Regions from separate parts of the Homo sapiens genome. Here region 2 is linked to region 1. The links are contacts of gene promoters, found by promoter capture Hi-C in human tissues and cell types (Jung and others, 2019). All regions are on one chromosome and are shown on one strand. Each heading gives the region's core, a stretch centred on a gene start or on the middle of the fragment in contact. The rest is flanking DNA. Distances are from core to core; before and after follow the strand shown. Region 1 holds the start of ICMT (isoprenylcysteine carboxyl methyltransferase). Region 2 overlaps ACOT7 (acyl-CoA thioesterase 7).

What was found. The method cuts DNA at HindIII sites, captures the fragments that hold promoters and counts their contacts. A contact is called where the count stands out against the background at its distance.
Region 2: a fragment that was not itself captured here is called in contact with the fragment with the promoter of ICMT in region 1 in 1 of the 25 tissues and cell types used here (lymphoblastoid cells).

Annotation. Positions count from the first base shown.
Region 1 is chr1:6,233,551-6,238,221 of GRCh38, reverse strand. It overlaps ICMT (isoprenylcysteine carboxyl methyltransferase), which reads left to right and starts at 2,258. Exons shown (of 5, transcript NM_012405.4): 1 at 2,258-2,505; 2 at 3,248-3,336; 3 at 4,579-4,671. The coding sequence starts at 2,311. ICMT-DT (ICMT divergent transcript) reads right to left here and starts at 1,982. Exons shown (of 5, transcript NR_103534.1): 1 at 1,886-1,982; 2 at 1,072-1,256; 3 at 877-977; 4 at 374-408; 5 at 1. RefSeq lists an enhancer at 1,053-2,025 and silencers at 1,990-2,319, 2,530-2,589. The HindIII fragment of the contact is 11,307 bases long and covers 1-4,671 here.
Region 2 is chr1:6,369,256-6,373,926 of GRCh38, reverse strand. All of the region lies in intron 1 of ACOT7 (acyl-CoA thioesterase 7), which reads left to right. Among named protein-coding and RNA genes, the nearest start is that of ACOT7, 22 kb to the left of the region's middle. The HindIII fragment of the contact is 6,575 bases long and covers 1-4,671 here.

The DNA.
Region 1 (4,671 bases), core at 1,009-3,508:
CCTGCAGGGACAAGAGTGGAGAGGGGCTCAGATGCAGGGCTCACAGACCGCCTGCCTCTCTCGCTGACCCACCACTTGATGCCAGCCTCCCCGAGGGCCTGTCCCCATCCCTTCTCAGCCTTTCTCCCTCCCGCCTCTGTGCCTTTCAAACGCCAAGCCCTCACTCCCTCCTTGATCTCATTTCCAATGGAGGGCAGGCTGTCCATCCCCAAGGGCCCCAAGGCCTAGCTCTGGCGTCTGTTCCTCGCAGCCTCCTCGCCCTGCCGCCCTCCAAGCTGAGGGCCTCCCCTGGGGTCCCTCTTTGCTCCCCATCCTTGCTCTCCTTCTGCCCCCACTGCCACCCCTGCAGAGTTTATTCCAGTTGTTCACTTACTGGCTTTTCTCCTCCAGCGCAGCTCTCTGAGCTACCTGAGGTGAGAGAATTTACTCTTTAAAAAGTAAAGAAAAACTTGATTATAAAAGTAATCTATGGGCCGGGCACGGTGGCTCATGCCTATAATCCCAGCAGTTTGGGAGGCCGAGGCGGGTGGATCACCTGAGGTCAGGAGTTTGAAACCAGCCTGGCCAACATGGTAAAGCCCCGTCTCTACTAAAAATACAAAAAAATTAGCTGGCCGTGGTAGTAGGCTCCTGTAATCCCAGCTACTCAGGAGGCTGAGGCAGGAGAATCACTTGAACCCGGAGGCGGAGGTTGCAGTGAGCCGAGATTGCGCCATTGTACTCCAGCCTGGGCAACAAGAGCAAAACTCCATCTGAAAAAAAAAAAGTATCCTGTGTTCATTGTAGGCAGTATGGAAACTGCAAAAACAGATAAAGACAATAAAAATCACCAAGAGTGCCACTACCTAAAGATAGGCCAGGGGTGGTGGCTCATACCTGTAATTCCAGTGCTTTGTGAGGCTGATTGGAGGATCACTTGGGCCCAGGAGTTCCAGACTGCCGCACTCCAGCCTGGCCAACACAGTGAGACCCTGTGTCTAAAAAAGAAAAAAAGAAAAAAAAAAGGTACATATATAGTCGGCGTTATACCATTTTGGCTGATAGCTTGATCATTTTCCCAGGCTCAGATACCTGCCCTTTTTCCCCAAGTGAAGTCAGGATCACACCGAAAAGCTTTGCCTCCTGCTATTTAAAAACCTAATATAGGCAGGGCGCGGTGGCTCACGTCTGTAATCTCAGCACTTTGGGAGGCCGAAGCGGGCGGATCACGAAGTCAGGAGATGGATCCCGGCTAACACGGTGAAACCCCGTCTCTACTAAAAATACAAAAAAATAAGACGGGCGCAGTGGCGGGCGCCTGTAGTCCCAGCTACTCGGGAGGCTGAGACAGGAGAATGGCGTGAACCCGGGAGGCGGAGCTTGCAGTGAGCCGAGATCGCACCACTGCACTCCAGCCTGGGCGACAGAGCGAGACTCCGTCTCAAAAAAAAAAGAAAACCTAACATATCCTGAGCATTCCCATCACCGTCCAGCCTTGTTCCACAACAGGAATTTAAGCGGGCGGTGGTCCCGTTGCATGGATGCCCAGGTGCCGTTGTCCAGGCCGGTTTCCAGGGAGCCGCAGAGGGAGGGCAGGAGGTCGCCGCACTTGGCCCCGCGCCCCAGGGCGTCTGGTTTTCGGGGACGACGCAGGGCCGGCGAGGGTGCGGCCGTTTCAAAATTTTTTTTTTTGAGATGGAGTGTCACTCTGTCACCCAGGCTGGAGTGCAGTGACACAATCTCGGCTCACTGCAACCTCCGTCTCCCCGGATCAAGCGATTCTCCTGCCTCAGCCTCACCAAGTAGCTGGGGTTAAAGGCGTGCGCCACCACGCCCAGCTAATTTTTGTATTTTTAGTATAGACGGCGTTTCCCCATGTTGCCCAGGTTGGTCTCGAACTCCTGACCTCAAATGATTCGCCAGCCTCGGCCTCCCAAAGTGCTGGGATTACAGGCGTGAGCCACCGCGCTCGGCTCGTTTCAAACTTTACATTGCTTCTTGGGACAGGAACCTCCTGAGTTTGGGACTAAGTTTGGACAGACGCGGGCGGCGACTTCTCCCACCACTTCCCGGCCCCCGCCCGGCACAGAGTCTGGCTCAGAGCCCGGATGTCCCCGAGGGGCGGGGAGGGGCGGGCGGGCGGGGCGCTCCCGCCAAATTCCGGACAGCAACAGGGCGGGCCGGAGTTCTCGCGAGAACTGGCAGGCGGCGCGCAGCTGCGGGCAGCTGCCCTTCCCGGGCCGGCATCGGCGGCACAGTGCGCAGGCGCAGCCGGCGCGTTTCTCCGGGCTACAGCCGGCGCCGCCGCCCGCTAGTCCGCCGCCCGGCGCCATGGCGGGCTGCGCGGCGCGGGCTCCGCCGGGCTCTGAGGCGCGTCTCAGCCTCGCCACCTTCCTGCTGGGCGCCTCGGTGCTCGCGCTGCCGCTGCTCACGCGCGCCGGCCTGCAGGGCCGCACCGGGCTGGCGCTCTACGTGGCCGGGCTCAACGCGCTGCTGCTGCTGCTCTATCGGCCGCCTCGCTACCAGGTGCAGGCCGGCGGGGGCCGGCGGGGGCCGGCGGGGCGGGCGGCGGTCCGCTTGGCGCGGCGCGTGGGCACCTTTCTCCCCGGGCCCGCAGTGGCCTCCCACGCGCGCGCTCTTCATCCGCGAGTTCAGGTCGCAGGAGGGGACCCTCTCTCTCCGGGCTCGGGCGCCCTGCACCCGAGGAGTGGGTTGTTAAATTGCAGCTTGTGCAGCTCAGCAGGTGCGCGTGGGGTGGAGTGAGCGAGCCCGCGAGTGCTTTTATGTAACTTAAGGTGCAGAGACCTACCTGCTGCCCTGTCTCAGGTCAAAGGCCCCGCAGTGACGTGGGTGGGGCTGGGCGCACAGGCCCGGGTGCCCTGACCTCATAAACTAGGCTTAAGCAGTTTTCCTACAGCCCTGAATAGTAATCACGAATAATAATAATAATGACAGCTAAAATGTAGGTAGCAGTTAGTCTTAAGTGTTTTACGTGGGTAATCCTTACTGCAGTCCTAAAAGGTAGGTACTGTTATCCCCTGGCTGTAGATGGGGAAGCAAGCTCAGAGAGGTTAAATAATTTGGGAGGCCACACAGCCAGAGAGCGGTGGGTGCAGAATTTGAACCCAGGTCGCCCACTTCTCCCTTTCAACCTCAGCAAATCGGCTCTATCTGCTTGCCTGTGGGTTGCCTATTCCGGGAAGGTCAGCAGCCCAGATCTGTACTCTGAGGACTGTGAATGACTGAGCTTCTCTTGGGTTCCTTTCAGATAGCCATCCGAGCTTGTTTCCTGGGGTTTGTGTTCGGCTGCGGCACGCTGCTAAGTTTTAGCCAGTCTTCTTGGAGTCACTTTGGCTGGTAAGAATTCCTTCGGAAATACTGGTTTTCAGGCGAGGGTGGACAGATCAGAGGGTCTGTAGCGGCATTTCCTCATCCCTGTCTCATCTGTGACCGGCAGAAGGCTGTTCAGGGTTCTCTGGAAACGAAGTCTCCTGGCTTCCCCCTAGTTGCTCACATTTCAGCCCTTGTGATTTCGTGCCTGTGGGTTGATTGTGAATCAGGCAGAAACAGATCTCCCTGGCACCCCCAAAGGTGCTGTCATCCGCAGCTGTGGTGACAGCATTCCGTAACTTGAGCAGCCCTTCCCGGAAGGGGTGCAGGTCCTCGGTGGCGGGCAGGGGCAGGGCTCTGGCTTGTCTTCATGGGCCTTTTTCATCTCTAATTTCTATTAGGTCACATCTAGTGCATCCCCACAGCCACTGTAGGATTTTTCCCTACACTATGATTTCAGTCCCTTGAGCCTTCTAGTCTGACCTGGATATGAACCAGTGGCTTCAAGGTAAAAAGTTTTATCTCCTCTTATCAATATTTTGAGCCATCTAATCCTTCTTTGCCGGAATTATTTCAGTTTTGTTAAATTTTGTATCCGACATACATCACTCCTTTATGTTGTTATCTCCCTCTTTCATGTTTTATTGTGTGTAGTGTCATTTTTAACGGACAGAAGGGCCCATAATGCCTCTGTGACCTATGGGTTTGTTTTGCCTGTGACATTCAAAAACAGTCCCTTGCCGGGCGCGGTGGCTCACGCCTGTAATCCCAGCACTTTAGGAGGCCGAGGTGGGCAGATCACGAGGTCAGGAGTTCAAGACCAGCCTGGCCAAGCCAGGAGTTCGAGACCAGCCTTGCCAACATAGCGAAACCCTGTCTCTACTAAAAATACAAAAATGAACTGGGCGTGGTGGTGGGCACCTGTAGTCTGAGCTACTTGAGAGGCTGAGGCAGGAGAATCGCTTGAACCTGGGAGGCGGAGGTTGCAGTGAGCTGAGATCACGCAGTTGCATTCCAGCCTGGGCGACACAGCGAGACTCTGTCTCAAACAAAACAAAACAAAACACCAGAAACAAAAACAGCCCCTTAAAAACTCCACTTTTTGCAAACCTGAGGTAGTAGATGCTGCAGATGGGTACCTGTGTCCACTCTCAGACAGGTGAGAACAGGGCCTCATAGACTTAGGGACAGCTCAGGAGACCCAGATGTGCACTTATGGTTAACTTGGTTCTCTTGTCCCAACTTAACTCTCTTTTTGTCTTTAAATAGGTACATGTGCTCCCTGTCATTGTTCCACTATTCTGAATACTTGGTGACAGCAGTCAATAATCCCAAAAGTCTGTCCTTGGATTCCTTTCTCCT
Region 2 (4,671 bases), core at 1,509-4,008, 140 kb before region 1:
AGGTACAGACAGACTTCCTTTCATTGCACTTTGCAGGTCCTGCATTTTTTTTTTTTTTTTTAAGATGGAGTTTAGCTTTTGTTGCCCAGGCTGGAGTGCAATGGCACGATCTCGGCTCACTGCAACCTCTCCCTCCTGGATTCAAGCGATTCTCCTGCCTCAGCCTCCTGAAGGGCTGGGATTACAGGCGCCTGCCACTGTGCCCAGCTAATTTTTGTATTTTTAGTAGAGACGGGGTTTCACCATGTTGGTCAGGCTGGTCTCAAACTCCTGGCCTCAGGTGATCCACCCACCTTGGCCTCTCAAAGTGCTGGGATTATAGGCGTGAGCCACTGCTCCCAGCCAGGTCCTGCCTTCTTTACAAATTGAAAGTTTGGGGCAGGCGTGGTGGCTCAGGCCTGTAATCTCAGCACTTTGGGAGGCCGAGGCAGGCGGATCACCTGAGGTCAGGAGTTCGAGACCAGCCTGGCCAACATGGCGAAACCCCATCTCTACTAAAAATATAAAAAATTAGCTGGGTGTGGTGGCATGTGCCGTAGTCACAGCTACATGGGAAGCTGAGGCAGGAGAATCACTTGAACCTGGGAGGCAGAGGTTGCAGTGAGCTGGGATCATGCCACTACACTCTAGCCTGGGCAACAGAGCGAGACTCCTTCTCAAAAAAAAAAAAGTTTGTGGCAACCCTGCATTGAGCAAGTCTATTGGCACCATTTTTCGGCCAGCCTGTGCTCATGTAGTGTGTCTATATCATATTTTGGTAATTCTTGCAATATTTCAAACTTTTTCGTTATCATTTTTGTTATGGTGATCTATGACCAGTAATTTTTGGTGTTACTAGTGTAATTGTTTTGAGACATCACGAACCACGTCCATGTAAGACAGCAAATGAAATTGATAAATGTTGTATGTGTTCTGACTGCCCCACTGACCGGCTATTTCCCCATCTCTCTCCCTTTTCGTGAGCTCCCTCATTCCCTGAGACACAACAATTTTGAAATTAGACCAATTAATACCCTACCTCTAGTGTTCCAGTGAAGGAGAGAGTCACACATCTCTCACTTTAAGCCAAAAGCCGGAGGCCAGGCACGGTGGCACATGCCTATAATTCCAGCACTTTGGGAGGCTGAGGCGGTTGGATCACTTGAGGCCAGGAGTTCGAGACCAGCCTGGCCAACATAGTGAAACGCCATCTCTACTAAAAATACAAAAAACTAGCCAGGTGTGTTGACATACGCCTGTAGTCTCAGCTACTCAGAGGATGAGGCAGAAGAACCTCTTGAACCCAGAGGTGGAGGTTGCAGTGAGTCAAGATCGTGCCACTGCACTCCAACCTGGGCGACAGAGCGAGACTCTCAAAAAAAAAAAAAAAAAAGCCAAAAGTTAGACATGATTAAACTTAGGAAGGCATGTTGAAAGCTGAGATAGGCTGAAAGCTAGGCCTCGTGTGCCAAACAGTTAGCCAAGTTGTGAATGCAAAGGAAAAGTCCTTCGAAGGAAATTACAAGTGCTGCTCCAGTGAACACATGAATGATAAGAAAGCAAAACAGCCTTCTTGCTGATAACGGAGAAGAAGAATTTTAGTGATTTGGAGAGAAGATGAAATCAGCCACAACATTCCCTTAAGCCAAAGCCTAATCCAGAGCAAGGCCGTAACTCTCTTCAATTCTATGAAGGCTGAGAGAGGTGAGGAAGCTGCAGAGGAAAAGCGTGAAGCTAACAGAGGTTGGTTCATGAGGTTGAAGGAAAGAAGCCACCTCCATAACATGAAAGTACAAGGTAGAGCAGCAGGTGCTGCTGGAGAAGCTGCAGCAGGTTATCCGAATCTGGCTGAGATCACCGGTGAGGGTGGCTACACAATAGGTTTTTTCTTTTTTTTTTTTTTGACACAGAGTTTTGCTCTGTCGCCCAGGGTGGAGTGCAGTGGTGCAATCTCGGCTCACTGCAACCTCCACCTCTCAGGTTCAAGAGATTCTTCTGCCACAGCCTCCCGAGTAGCTGGGTCTACAGGTGCACGTTACCACACCTGGCTAATTTTTTTATTTTTAGAAGAGACAGGATTTCACTATGTTGGCCAGGCTGGTCTCGAACTCCTGACCTCAAATGATCTGCCTGTCTCAGCCTCCCAAAATGCTGAGATTACAGGCGTGAGCCCCTATGCCCTGCCTAGGTTTTCAGTGTGGGTGAAACAGCTTTCTGTTGAAAGAAGATAACATCTAGGACTTTCATAGCTAGGGAGGAAAAGTCAATGCCTGGCTTCCAAGGACAGGCTAGGTCTGGTGACTCACGCTGTAATCCCAGCACTTTGGGAGGCTGAGGCGGGTGGATCACTTGAGGTCAGGAGTTTGAGACCAGCCTGGCCAACATGGCAAAACCCTGTCTCTACTAAAAATACAAAAATTAGCTGAGTGTGGTGGCACTTGCCTGTAGTCCCAGCTACTCAGGAGGCTGAGGCAGGAGAATCGCTTGAGCCCAGGAAGTAGAGGTTGCAGTGAGCCAAGATTGCACCTGCCACAGCACTCCAGCCTGGGTGACAGAGTGAGATTCTGTCTCAAAAAAAAAAAAAAGGACAGGCTGACTCTCTTGTTAGGGGCTTATACAGCTGGTGACTTTAAGTTGAAGCCAATGCTCATTTACTATTCTGAAAATCCTAGGGCCCTTATGAATTATGCTAAATTTACTCTGCCTGTGTTCTATAAATGGAACAACAAATCCTGGATGTCAGCACATCTGTTTATAGCATAGTTTTCTGAATATTTTTAAGCCTGCCGTTGAGACCTACTGCTCAGAAAAAAGATTTCTTTCAAAATAATACTGATCAGGCCGGGTGCGGTGGCTCACGCCTGTAATCCCAGCACTTTGGGAGGCTGAGGCAAGTGGATCACGAGGTCAGGAGTTCAAGACCAGCCTGGCCAAGATGGCGAAACCCTGTCTCTACTAAAAATATAAAAATTAGCCAGGCGCAGTGGCAGGCGCCTATAATCCCAGCTACTCAGGAGGCTGAGGTAGGAGAATCACTTGAACTCAGGTGGCAGAGGTTGCAGTGAGCCGAGATCGCACCACTGCACTCCAGCCTGGGCAATAGAGTGAGACTCTGTCTCAAAAGAAAAAAAAAAATCAAAATAATACTAATCATTGGCTGTGCGTGGTGACTCATGCCTGTAATCCCAGCACTGTGGGAGGCCAAGGTGGTTGGATTACCTGAGGTCAGGAGCTCGAGACCAGCCTGGCCAACATGGTGAAACCCCATCTCTACTAAAAAATATACAAAAATTAGTTGGGCATGGTGGTGCATGCCTGTAATCCCAGCTACTTGGGAGGCTGAGGCAGGAGAATCACTTGAACCAGGGAGGCGGAGGCTGCAGTGAGCTGAGATCGCACCACTGCACTCCAGGCCAGGTGACAGAACGAGACTCCATTTCAAATAATAATAATAATAATAATAATAATAATAATAATAATAATAATAATACTAACACTGCTCATTGACAATAGACCTGATAAACCAAGAGCTCTGATGGAGATGCACAAGGAGATTAATTTTGTTTTCGTGCCTGCTGGCTTTAGTCCATTTGTGTGGCTGTAAAGGAATGCCCGAAGCTGGGTAATTTATGAAGGAAAGAGCTTTATTTGGCTCATGGTTCTGCAAGCTGTACAGGAAGCATGGCACCAGCATCTTCTTCTGGCGAGGGACTCAGGCCACTTCTACTTACAGCAGAAGGGGAAGGGAAGCTGGTGTGTGCAGGTCACATGGCCAGAGAAGTGAGAGAGAAGGGAGGTGCCAGGCTCCTTTTAACTATTAGTTCTCCCAGAGGCTAATAAAGTGAGAACTCACTCATGACCACGAGGATGGCACCATGCCCTTCCAGAGGGATCCATCCTGTGACCCAAACACTTCCTATTAGGTCCTGCCTCCAACATTGGGATTGAATTTCAACATGAGGTTAGGGATCCTCATATCCAAACCATAGTGGATAATAGCACCTATTAACTCAACATCCATTCTGCAACCTATGGATCAAGGAGTAATCTTGACTTTCAAGTTGTATTGTTTAAGAAATGCATTTTGGGCCTGTAATCCTAACACTTTGGGAGGCTGAGGCAGGTGGATTGCCTTTGTTCAGGAGTTTGAGACTAGCCTGGGCAACATGTTGAAATCCTGTCTCTACAAAAAATACAAAAAATTAGCCGGGCGTGGTGGTGGGCGCCTGTAGTCCAAGATACTTGGGAGGCTGAGGCAGGAGAATGGCATGAACCTGGAAGGCGGAGCTTGCAGTGAGCTGAGATCGTGCCACTGCACTCCAGCCTGGGCGATACAGCGAGACTCCATCTCCAAAAAAAAAGAAAAAAAAGAAATTAGCTGGACATGGCAACATGTGCATGTAGTCCCAGCTACTCAGGAGGCTGAGGCAGGAGAATTGCTTGAACCCAGGAGGTGGAGGTTGCAGTGAGCTGAGATTGTGCCATTGCACTCCAGCCTGGGCGACAGAGTGAGCCTCCTTCTCTACAAAAAAAAAAAAAAAAAAAAAAAGAAATGCATTTTGTGGGGCTCTGGCTGCCATAGTGGTTCTTCTGATCTGGGCAATGTAAATTGAAAAATTTACATTGGAAAGCATTCACTATTCTAGAAGCCATTAAGAATATTTATAGACCAGGCGAGGTGGCTCACGCCTG